Regions from separate parts of the Homo sapiens genome. Here region 1 is linked to region 2. The links are contacts of gene promoters, found by promoter capture Hi-C in human tissues and cell types (Jung and others, 2019). All regions are on one chromosome and are shown on one strand. The core of a region is centred on a gene start or on the middle of the fragment in contact, and the rest is flanking DNA. Distances in the headings are between cores, read along the strand shown. Region 1 holds the start of LOC101929408 (a long non-coding RNA gene). Region 2 holds the start of ARID3B (AT-rich interaction domain 3B).

Region 1 (5,939 bases), core at 702-3,201, 1.2 Mb after region 2:
GTAATCTAGAGGTGATTTAAAGTCTACGGAAGGATGTGCATAGGTTATATGCAAATACTATGCCATATTATATCAGAGCATCTGTGAATTTTGGTATCTCTGGGGTCCTGGAACCAATATCCTGAGGTTTCTAAGGGACAACTGTATTCAATTTCTTCTCTGGTTATTAGTCTATTCTCTAATGTATTTTTGTTGTTGTTTTGTCTTTTTGTTTTTGCCTCTTCAAGTCAATGTCGGAAACTTAGTTGTTTTAGACAACCCATTAGCTCAGAGCTACCAGTAAGCAGACTACCACTGCAATCTAAGCAACGGATTTTTTCCCCCATCAGACTGGCAAAAAATAAGCATCTATTGATGTTGAAATTGTAGGGAGTTTTCCTGAGCATGTTAATTATGACAGCCCTTTTTGCTAGGCACCTACACAATTCATCAAAATGAAATAAAACACCCATGCACTTGAAGAAGTTATCTGGTTATTTCCTTATCTGGGTGCTGGTTATGTGAGGTCTACAGTTAATGAACACTTATTAAGCTTTATATTTCTAATAGGTACAATTTTCTGCATGTGTAGTAGATTTCAATAGTTTTTAAAATGTCTTTTGCCGCAGCCCGCAGCTGTGTATAATGCTATTCGCTTAACAGTGGAAAACATGGCAATGACCTGAATCCCCCTGGCTCCCGGGATCCTACCCCCTTAAGTTAAACAAATGAAATAACTTCCACTGTCTTTCCTAATGTCTTAATTCGGTCCTCAGTTAAACTGGCGGTGGGCGCTGCTTTTTTTCCAGGGAAGGATTCTGGAAGACATAGGAGGAGACGCCAGCATTTCGCCCTCCAGCACCTCCTGCGGGCTGTGGTCCGCTTCCGGCCTCACTCGAGCAGACCCCGCCCTCCCAGAGGCCGTTTGTCCAAGTCACGTGATCGTCGAATCTGTTGACCTGGCGCCACCGGAAAAAGAAATTCCCGGGCCCTGGCTTCTTGGCCTGATGGTGAGGCACCAGAGGTGAAGCGAGGCATGGGCTGCTGGAGCGGGAATGAGGGGGCGACAGTGGCTCCGGAAACGGGGGGAGGGTGTCTTCACTGGCCTCTCCGCAAACACAGTGTGTGCGGGTGTGAGGGCTGCAGGTCTGGTAGAGAAGAGTCCACCGCCATCCCGCTCCTGAGACGGGGGCAGGAGTGGGGGGCAGGAGTGGGGGGGCGGGTAAGACAGAGCAGGCCGGCCGGCTTGTGGAGGGCGAGGCAGGCAGATCCCTTGAGCTCAGGAGTTTGAGACCAGACTGGGCAACATGGCAAAACCCCATCTCTACTAAAAATACAAAAAATTAGCTGGGCATGGTGGCACATGCCTGTAGTCCCAGGTAGTTAGGAGGCTAGGGTGGGAGCACTGCTTGAGCCCAGGAAGTAGAGGCTGCAGTGAGCCGAGATCATGATGTCACTGCACTCCAGCCTGGGCAACAGAGTGGGACCCTGTCTCAAAAAATAAAAATAAAGTGGAAGCATCAGTATGCATGATTGAAGTCATGCTTTCCATCTATTTTTTTCCACCTTCCCTTTTTTCTGTCTAAAACATTGTATCTTAAGCTTTTGCCTATGTTATCAAGTACTCATAAGCATTATTTGAATGGTTGTATCATAATCCATTATCTGGACTCATTGTCATTTATCCATCTGCAGTTGCTGGAGATACTGCCCTTTCTGCCACACTCAGTCACCCTTCTGACCTTGCACTGTGTCCAGTTATCTACTAATACCCATACTGGTCATTTAGGACTTAAGAATAGTTATCATAGTTTTTAACATTCCAAAAAGAATGTGTCTTCCTAAAAATAGAATGGCTTGGTGGTTATACTTTTAAAGCAAAATAGACAAAGCCATGTTGAAATTAATGTTTTATTTTCTTCTTGTATCTATTTTCACTTCTCTTGTCATTTTGATGGATAAAGTTTCATTTGGAAGGATTTTTATTTCAAAACAGAAATAGCATATGACATGAGAAGGGGAACTCTGAAAGGTTCAACTTCCTAGTTTACTAAGTTTGTCACAAAAGCTACTGATAGTCAATCATGATTGGCCTGTATTGAAAGTGAGTTAACATTATGTACAACTTAAGCACTATACTTTCTATCCGATACAGAAAAATAGGTGGTGTGTTTGGAAAAGTATTGGGCTAGGAGTCAGGAAGCTTGATTGTTAGTCTCAACCCTGCTTCTTGAGCTGAGCACCCCTAGGCAATAATTCAGCAGCTATTTCTTAAATACCTAAATGAATTTCAGGCTTTGTGGTTGGGCTGGGAATATAGACATAGATACTGCATTCATGATTCTCCAAGCCTCCCTTCTTCACCCCGGCTCACAGTGAGCTTTCTTATGCATTGTGTAAATTTGTCTCCTAACAGGCCCCAACTCTGTCTCCAACCTCCTTCCCAGGGCAGTTGTGAGGATCAGATGAGGGAGAATATGTGTGAAAGCAAATTGTAAATTATTTTAAAATGCAATAAAAATATGATCCATGGAAAATTATTTAAAGATCCTTATTAAAATTATTAAAGATCCTTAGAATTTTAAATAAACAGTACATTAGGCCGGGCATTGTGGCTTAGGAGAGCGCTGGGTCAAATCAGTCCCCTCCAGCTACGCATTGCCTGGAGCTGCTCTCCAAGGACCCCTCAGCCACAGAAGGCGCTGGTCCTCCTACAGTGCTGCCCCACCCCCACCACCACAGCCTCCTGGGGGTGCAGTCAGGGGTGCCCTCCTTCAGGCTCTGCCCCTGCACCCACTCCTACACAACTACTCTCCCTGCCGGCAGCCCCAGAGACCAGATTGGTTTGGGCCTCTGCCTCCGCAGGCCCGAACCACCATCTCTTCTGCTCCCCAGAAAGCCAGCTCCCAGCACACAGGCAGCGTTCCCTCTTCATTCCTCAACACAGAGGGCCCCTCACAACCCTCTCAGCAGATGGTAGAGCTCCCCACGCATCCTCTTAAAGAGGCTTCACCGTTGATGGCCACAAGCCCCACCATGACCTCCTCCCAGGGAGTGAATTTTCTTACATGTCTCCCACCAGAGCAGGGACAAAATAAAACATAAAAGCAGCAGCTGTTAAATTATCAGCAACATTTCCTACTAGGATCAACTCACGGAGTGGGCAGTGTATTCCATTAGGTGGATCAGTGCAGGGGTTAGCAAGCGTTTTCTGTAAAGGGCCGGATGGGAACTCTTTAAGGCTCTGCAGGCCACTGGGTCTCTGTCACCACCTACTCAAACCCTCCCCTGTAGCAAGAAAGCAGCCCTAGCAACATGTCAACAGATAAGCGTGGCCACATTCCCAGAAACCTTTCTTTATGGACATGGAAGTTTGCATCTCACGTAATTCTCATGTGTCACAAGATACGACTCTACTTTCCATGTTTTCAACCATTTAAACATGTAAAAGCCATTCTTAGCGCGTGGGCCACACAAAAGCAGGCAGCAAGAAATTTGGCCTTTACACCAACAGCAGCTGACCCCTGGATGGAGCATTAGAGCTTGGGTGTGTGTCCCACTCCAGGGCTTCCAGGAGAGGGGATGCAGGCCGATGCCACCTCCACCCCTGTCGCTCTAGGGGAGAAGGCAGAGCTGGTGCTGTATGAAGTTTGGCTGCAGATCCTGGGCCAGCCCTACACCAAGGCCTTGGAGGACAAAACCAGCCTTGAGTTCTGGGCACTTCAGGGGCAACCGACAAGATGGGTGAAGTGGCGGGATGAAGTGGGGGGGCGGGGAAGAAGCCTCGGGAAGATGGGGGATGACTGGACAAGACTTTGGTAGAGCTGTGACCCTCTTCATCCTCTCCTGACCCCCCAGCTGACCCTCGTCCTCAGATCTCTGCAGAACTTTGACCAGTGGTGGTGGAGGAATTCCGGTGGGTCCAGGGTGGCCCTGGGTGACCCAGGGCTCAGACCTGGGTTCTGGGGTTGAAGGCAGGAGGCTGGAAGAGATGACCTCCCTTAGGCCCCCCAGGCTGCCCAGCCCCCTGAAGTGGGATGATCCTCCCACCAGGCTGGACCCACTGACCGTCAGAGTGGGTGCCACCTTCTTCAGGGCGGCATCAGCCCAGGCTCTCGTGTGGGTCTGCACACCCTGGGGGAGGCAGAGGGCCTCTTGGTAGACACGGTCATCTCAGACCTCGGTCAGTACCTCCTTCCCTCTGCAGGCCCCCTCCCTCTGTCCATCTGCCTCCTCCCTTGGGCTTGCTGCCTCTACATGCCCTGATCTGAAACCTGCCTCCCCTCCTCATGGAGCCCTCCAAGATGCTCCTAGCCCCAGCTCTCTGGTCCCGCAGCAACTTCTGGTGCCAGATTCTGCCTTCTCAGAAGTCTGGGAGGCAGGGCCCCACCTGGCCATAGCCTTCTTGGTCTGCTCTAGGCACTGCTAGCCTTGAAGCCTCCAGCCTGCTGGATGCCTCCATCCCCGGCTATGCTGTGGCTCTCCTCATTCTAGGCCTCCTGCTCGTCACATTCACCCTTGTCCTGGTGAGTGTCTGGCTGGGCCCAGGCTCCTTCCTGAGGGGCAGGCTGAGCCTTTGATGCCTTGAGCCTTGAGCCAAGCTGAGGAGTGAGCAGGCCCCTTTACACCCCTGATTCCCCCACCCAAGCCCAGCATCTCCTCATCCTCCAGCTGGGGCTGCAGGGTTTGGGGCCAGGGGGCTGGGCCTGATCCCAGTGTCCCCACCCTTCTTGTCAAGGTGCTAAAGTGGAGGGCCTCCCATGGGGTGTTCAGCCTGGGTGTGTAGAAGCACACAGTGTGGTACAGAGGACCCTCTCCAGACAGGTAAGTGGAGGGCGGTTCTCCCTGACCCCACCCCAATTGTTTGTTCTGGGTGGGGTCCACCGCGCCCCCTGCCAAGGCCTTCTGCAAACACTCCCCAGGGGCTGTTGTGGGCAGCACCTGGGTGGTGCAGTTGGTGTGCCAGAAAAGCTCCCCAGTACTGGGCAGTGGCCCAGGCAGTCAAGCAGACTCCCTCAAGCAGGCCCCACCTACCCCTCGCCTGTTCCCAGCTGCCTCCCACCAACCCTAGAAATGATGCTGGGAGCTGACAGAAACTGAACTTAGGAGCACAGGAGGCCAGGAGACCTGGGACAGAGAACAGGAGGTATGGGGAGGGAATCTTCCTTCCCCCACTTCCCACTGCATGAGGGCCAGACAGTGGCACCTCCAGGTCCTGGAAGGACATGTGTGGACCCAACTCAGTTGGCCCTTTGTCTTATGGCCTTTCTTCTCCCTCCCCCGGGGCCAGGTGGATGTGGGAGGAGACGAACCACCATCCTGGGTGCACTCAGACTCATTCCCCACTCCTGGCCTTCACTCCCTTTCCTCTACACACAGGTGACCCCTCATGCTGCTGCTCCCTCTGCTGAAACCCAAACTGCAAACCTCTCCTCTCCCTGCCTTCACCTTGCCCCACGGCTTCCACAGACAGTGCCTCAACCCCGAGGAATGAATCCGAAGTTCCAACACCACTGACTTTCCCAGGAACTCAGAGCCAGAGAGGGCCAAGGACCAGCTCGAGGACACACAGCCAGGGCTTCTTCCCTCCGAAACCCCCAAGGACTGGACTTGCAGGGCTGGGACAGAGGTGGGGTGGGGGAAAGCAATGCCTTGTCAACCCACGTGGGGAGCCCCACTCCCATCCCCAAGGTGCATAAAGTTGAGGAACACCCCTGCTCCCACGTCCATGCTCATTCAGGGCCCTGCTCCAAGTGCTTGGCACTCACACCAGCCTCCTGCCCTCCACAGGTATTGGTCTCGTTTACAGATGGGGAAATGGTGGCCAAGAGCCTCCCCCAGCACATATAGCTAGACCACACAGAGGACTTAGGCACAGCTGGGGGGTCCGCAGTCTCTGCTGCCTCACCTGCCACCAAAGTGTGGTCCTGCTGCCAGGTGGCAGGAAGGGGACAGAAGCC
Region 2 (5,849 bases), core at 2,230-4,729:
AAGTAGCTCTTGTGTTCAGAACTCTCCAGGGCTTTCAGTGGTGACCGGCAAAATTGTTGCCATAATTGAGAAGGCCCTGCATGGTAAGGCCCCAGCTACCTTTTTTATCTGGTCTCTTAGCACTCTCCCCATCACTCACTCTGAATCAACATAGTGATCTCCTTGCTATTCCCATAGCACCTCAAGCAGGCTCCTGCCTCAGGGCATTTGAATTTGCTGTCTCCTCTGCCTGGAACACTCTCCCCCTAGATATCTACATGGCTTACACCCATTAAGTCAAGGCCAGTTTCTGCTTAAGGGCTCCTTATAAATTCTTCTCTGACTAACATCTAAAATAGCAGCTACCTGACACCACTGTCTAATCCCTACCCTGCTTTGTTTTCTTAGCATATATCCCTGACATTACATACTTGTTTTCTCTCCTCGAACTAGTAAAGATCCTTGCGAGCAGGGAATTTGTTTTGTCCATTGCTCAGTAAGCACCTACATGAGTGCCTGGTCTGGCATATAGTGGGAGTTGAATGAATATTTTTGATTGAATAAATAGGAGGTAAGGACAGGATGGGAAGGCAAGTAAGTAGGTTTCTCGATTTCAGGACATTCTACATTTTCTGTTACTTACATGATAAGGAAGTCAGGGGAAGTGGTAAGGGTATAGGTCAGAGATTTGTAGAGATCGTGGAGAGCAAGTTGACTAGAAAAATATAATGAAATTTCTAGTCACAGTTCACAGTCCTTTTTTTTTTTGAGACGGAGTCTTGCTCTGTCACCCCGGCTGGAGTGCAGTGGCGCGATCTCAGCTCAATGCAAACTCCACCTCCCGGGTTCAAGCAATTCTTCTGCCTCAGCCTCCAAAGTAGCTGGGATTACAAGTGCTTGCCACTGCGCTCAGCTAATTTTTGTATTTTTAATAGAGACGGGGTTTCACAATGTTGGCCAGGCTGGTCTCGAACTCCTGACCTCATGATCCACCCACCTCAGCCTCCCAAGTGCTGGGATTACAGGTGTGAGCCGCCGCACCTGACCCACAGTCCATTTAAAGTTGGTCTTTATTAATGTAGTGACGCCAATCTGTTCAGCAGGACACTTTTTCTTTTTTTGAGGTGGAGCTTTGCTCTTGTTGCCCAGGCTGGAGTGCAATGATGCAATCTCAGCTCACTGCAACCTCTCCTCTCAGGTTCAAGCTCTCCTGCCTCAGCCTCTGGAGTAGCAGGGATTACAGGTCTTCACCACCACGCCCGGCTAATTTTTGTATTTTTAGTAGACAGGGTTTCACCATGTTGGTCAGGCTGGTCTCAAACTCCTGACCTCAGGTGATCCACCCGCCTCGGACTCCCAAAGTGCTGGGATTACAGGCATGAGCCATCGTGCTCGGCCTCAACAGGACAATTTTTTTGTTTTTGAGATGAAATCTTGCTCTGTCACCCAGACTGGAGTGCAGTGGCGTGATCTCGGCTAACTGCAACCTCCGCCGTCCAGGTTCAAGCGATTCTTCTGCCTCAGCCTCCCCAGTAGCTGGGACTACAGGCATGCGCCACCACACCCAGCTAATTTTTGTATTTTTAGTAGAGACGGGGTTTCACCATATTGGCCAGGCTGGTTTCTAACTCCTGACCTCGTGATCCGCCCACCTCGGCCTCCCAAAGTGTTGGGATTACAGGCATGAGCCACCACGCCCAGCAACAGGACAACTTTCTATGACAAGGTACAAGCAAGGAGAAACACATAGGTCCATCCAGGGTGAGGGATTTCGTTGGGGAAAAAGGAGTGTTGTGGTGGGATTAAGATTAAGTAGGGGCAGGACTGTATTAATGTACCACTGAATCTAAAATGGATAAGGAAGGAAGTGAAGAGGGGATTAATGTATAAGAGATAAAGTAGAGGCTTTCAACCGATTAGATGCTCTGCTCTGATAAAGTGAAAGAACAGGCCGGGTGCAGTGGCTTACGCCTGTAATCCCAGCACTATGGGAGGCCGAGGCGAGCGGATCACCTGAGTTCAGGACTTCGAGACCAGCCTGGCCAACATGGCGAAACCTGTCTCTACTAAAAATGCAAAAATTAGCTGGCTTGGTGGCGCACACCTGTAATCCTAGCTACTCGAGAGGCTGAGGCAGTAGAATTGCTTGAACCCAGGAGGCGGAGGTTGCAGTGAGCTGAGGTTGCGCCACTGCACTCCAGCCTGGGCGACAGAGCAAGACTCCTTCTAAAAAAAAAAAGTGAAATAACAGTAATAACAGTTATGCTGTAATTCTATTTTTTTTGGGGGGGGGGAACAGTGTCTCTGTCACCCAGGCTGGAGTGCAGTGGCACAATCATGGCTCACTGCAACCTCCGCCTCTCCTGGGCTCAGGTGATCTCCCACCTCAGCCTTCCGAGTAGATGGGACCACAGGCATGCGCCAAAACGCCTCATTAAACTTTGTATTTTTTGTAGAGATGGGGTATCGCCTTGTTGCCCAGGCTGCTCTCCAACTACTGGGCCCAAGAGATTCGCCTGCCTCAGCCTTCCAAAGTGCTGAAATTACAGGCGTGAGCTACTGCATCAGGCCTATAATTCAAAAGTAGTCAAGCTGAGAGAATAGCAGGCTGTGGTTGAAAAGAGGGTTGTTCAAATTACTGAGTCGTGACGCGATAGCGTTTGGAGGGACAAGGTCCAGGTTTTAACTGGGATTGGGAGGCTGATATAAGGGTCGCTAAAGACGAGGCCCGATGTTGAATGGGTTGGCCACATAGGCTCTGAAATTATCAAAGATGGTCAGACGGGAGACAGACAAGGAGCTGGATACACAGATCGGCAGATTATCTCCAAACGGGGTGAAGTAGGTGACAGAGTCTAAGGGGAAGGGCTGAAGAAGCAAGTGTTTTTACAAGAGGTGACAGCACCTGGCACATAATCCCGACCTCTGCAAACTGAGACCTGAGAATACTAATTCATGTGAGAAAGTTTCAAGGGACGCAACATTCTCGGGACAGCCAGGTCTCTGTCCCAGGAAGGAGCGGAGAAGTTTAGAGACAAGCTGATCTAAACACGAGAACCTCTGAGGAAGACCGGCTTGAAGGCAGGAGATTGAGGAGGGGACCGAAGCGACGGCAAACCCTACACTCCTCTGCTCTTTAGTTACTTTCCTCCCAGCCAACCGCCCAAGCCACACCAACCTCCGCAATAGAAAACGCTCGGAGAACACGATCTCCCGCCCAGCTCTTTTCAACTCCCCGCGGAAGTGCTCACACCGGAACCCCTCTGTGTCCGCACTTTGCCATTGGCCGAGGCTTCCGCCCGCTTCCATTCGCTTCCTCCCACAACTCAGTCGGGCTGCGCGGTCCGTAGGAGTCACTTCCGCCTCGTCCCACCCCGCCCCCCGGTCCCTTTCTAGCAGCTTCCGGCTTCGGTCCCGCCCCGCCCCCTGTGGCCCCGCCCCGCCCCCGCCCCCGCCCCTGGCTGGCGGTCCAGCCCCGCGGCGCCGCTTCCGGTGCGGGCCCCGCCCCGGCTGTGGCCCCCGGCTGCGGAGGAGTCCGAGACGCAGCTGCCGCGCCGGGGCCTGAGCTGCCGCCTCCTCCGCCGCCCGAAAACCCGGAGTGCCCCGCACAGGTAAGTGGCCCGGGTCCGGGCTCCCTCAGGCATGGCGGGAGAGGAGGCTGCGACAGGTGGAGGGGCCGAGGCCAGGAGCCGAGGCAGGTGTAGAGAGAGAGGGGAATGCGCGAGTCGGGGGCGCGGGGACCGCGAAGGAAAGTGAGAGCGCCGCGGGAGCCCCGAGCGCCCTGTGCCCATTAGGGCATTTGAGATAAAGCGTTTGAGATAAAGCGATGAGAAGGGTGAGGGGCCCTGGAGCTGAGTGGGCGCGCAGATAGGTGGGGCGGGGGCCATCGGAAGAGCCAGCGGATTGGCTGGGAGGGTTGGTAGAGGTAAAAATGATAGGGCTGAATGGGGGGAGGTGAATAAAGAATGGGGGGAGGCGTGCAGGGGTGACCGGGAAGGTGGGCTGTGGGGCTTACAGGGGCCCGGGGCCAAAAGAATCCGGCAGCAAAAGCAGGGGAATGGTCAGCAGGCCGGGTTCAAAGCTGCAGGTAGTCCGTTGTACCCGGCTTGGTGGTCCGGGAACTTTAGGGGAAATGGGGGAGGGGCCCGTGTGAAGGGATGAAGAGGTTTAGATTTGAGACATAAGTTCTCCAAATGTAGGCAGGTGGCATTGTTTGGATCGCTGGCTGCTTAGGGACTGCGGGAAAATGGGCTCTTTGGGGGAGGGTGTGTGTATTGAGTTGTAGAACTGAGTCATCTCAGTCTTACTATAAGAGGCTGTGGGAGGGACACCTCCCCCTCTGCTGGGGACAGCATTCAGAGAAGATGGTGCCACAAGACAAGAAGCAGTTGTTCAGTGACTGGCAGGACTTGGTTGAGAAGTTATTCCGATCGTGATTGATTGACTGTAATGACTATGAGGACATTTAAAATGAACACCGAATTATTTGCTTTATTCTGTAATTTTCTTTGACCCAAATTGTTTTCATTTTAAATGAACACTTTTGCCAACTGAATTTAATGTGGATGTAAATCTTGTCATGCTTTTTTACACTGTAAGAAGAGCTAAAGCAGAATGAAAGTATTGCTGCAAGCGTAACTCACACTTTCTGAAGTGCCAAGAGAGGAAGTAAAGGCAGTAAGAGGCAAATTGGAATGCGAATCTTTCACAGAACACAAAAGGCACAAACAGGGCTATAAGATAAACAGAAAATGAGAATTTTTAATCTCTACTAATTGGCCTAGCTTTAAAAATTGTACCCTTTTTTACTCTAACCTGGAAAAAATCTTAAATCCAAGCAGTTTTTATTGCTGAAGATGTGATTACTTCTCCGTGAATTTTTGAAGATACTAAAGACACTTTGTTTTTTGTCTTTCGACCCAATCCTAAAACACTGGAACAATGCAGATATCAAGTCCCAACATGTGCAGTGCAGCTTCTTTCATGTGATGACAAAATTGTACGCCATGTTGCAAGTCCTGTTCACCTAAAATTGCCCTTGCATAGTAATCCATTCAGTTATGGAGACTTGCTGAAGAAACATAACTCAAGTGAAGTTTGTTGGGGGTGAGGGCCTGCAGGGGAGAGGTGGGGGAGTAAAAGGAGAAGAGGGTGTGAAAGTGATGTGTGTTTGGAGACTGATTGGTAAGAATGCAGATAAACCTGCCCCCAGAATGCTTTTGGCCCGAAAGACTTTTCTTTTTGTGTTTGTCAGAGAATATCATAATAGAAATGAATCAGAAAGAAAGGGGATGTGAAGAGATTTACTTCGCTGTTTATAAAAAAGAAGCAGCATTAACTTGTTGTTCAGACAATGTTGATATCTGTTTCAAATTAATTAACTTTAAAATCTCCAGAGGAATTCCCCCGTTTGCTTTTGAGTGACGATTGCAATTTGAGACTCTTGCCTCCTTGCGTGTTTCTTTCATGTTGTTGAAATTGGATTCTTTTTGAGGCTATAATGTCCAGTTAGTATGGCTCAGTCCACTCAACAAGCAGGCTGGCAATTTGATCAGGGAAATTTGAAAAGCTTAGACCCAAGAGCAGCTTGCTTGGTCTTGCTTTTTCTATGAGAGTAAAACTGTCTGCCTGATAGTTCTGTGTCTAGCTTAGAGGTGATATCTTTCTCCTGTGGGCTTGGGAACATACTCTCTCCTTTGCAGGCAGGTCCTTCTTTTCCTTTATTATTGTTGTTTGCATAATTATGCTTCTGCTACAGTGCAAACCCAGTTACCTTTTCAGTAATTAATGTTCAGTAACATTAGTTCAGTAACAGATTAATGTTTGATAATGTAGAGGAAGAGAGATCAGAACACGTTAGCAGACTAGAT

The links. The method cuts DNA at HindIII sites, captures the fragments that hold promoters and counts their contacts. A contact is called where the count stands out against the background at its distance.
Region 1: a fragment that was not itself captured here is called in contact with the fragment with the promoter of ARID3B in region 2 in 1 of the 25 tissues and cell types used here (spleen).

The regions. Positions count from the first base shown.
Region 1 is chr15:75,757,625-75,763,563 of GRCh38, forward strand. It overlaps LOC101929408 (a long non-coding RNA gene), which reads left to right and starts at 918. Exons shown (of 4, transcript XR_932487.3): 1 at 918-1,003; 2 at 4,399-4,505; 3 at 4,718-4,803; 4 at 5,359-5,697. MIR4313 (microRNA 4313) reads right to left here and starts at 4,691; the gene lies at 4,591-4,691. The HindIII fragment of the contact is 5,413 bases long and covers 1-4,658 here.
Region 2 is chr15:74,537,741-74,543,589 of GRCh38, forward strand. It overlaps ARID3B (AT-rich interaction domain 3B), which reads left to right and starts at 3,480. Exons shown (of 9, transcript NM_006465.4): 1 at 3,480-3,590. LOC124903528 (a long non-coding RNA gene) reads right to left here and starts at 3,348. Exons shown (of 2, transcript XR_007064719.1): 1 at 3,158-3,348. RefSeq lists enhancers at 2,736-2,865, 2,800-3,341, 2,916-3,065, 4,416-4,475 and silencers at 3,366-3,725, 4,242-4,426. The HindIII fragment of the contact is 13,134 bases long and covers 1-5,849 here.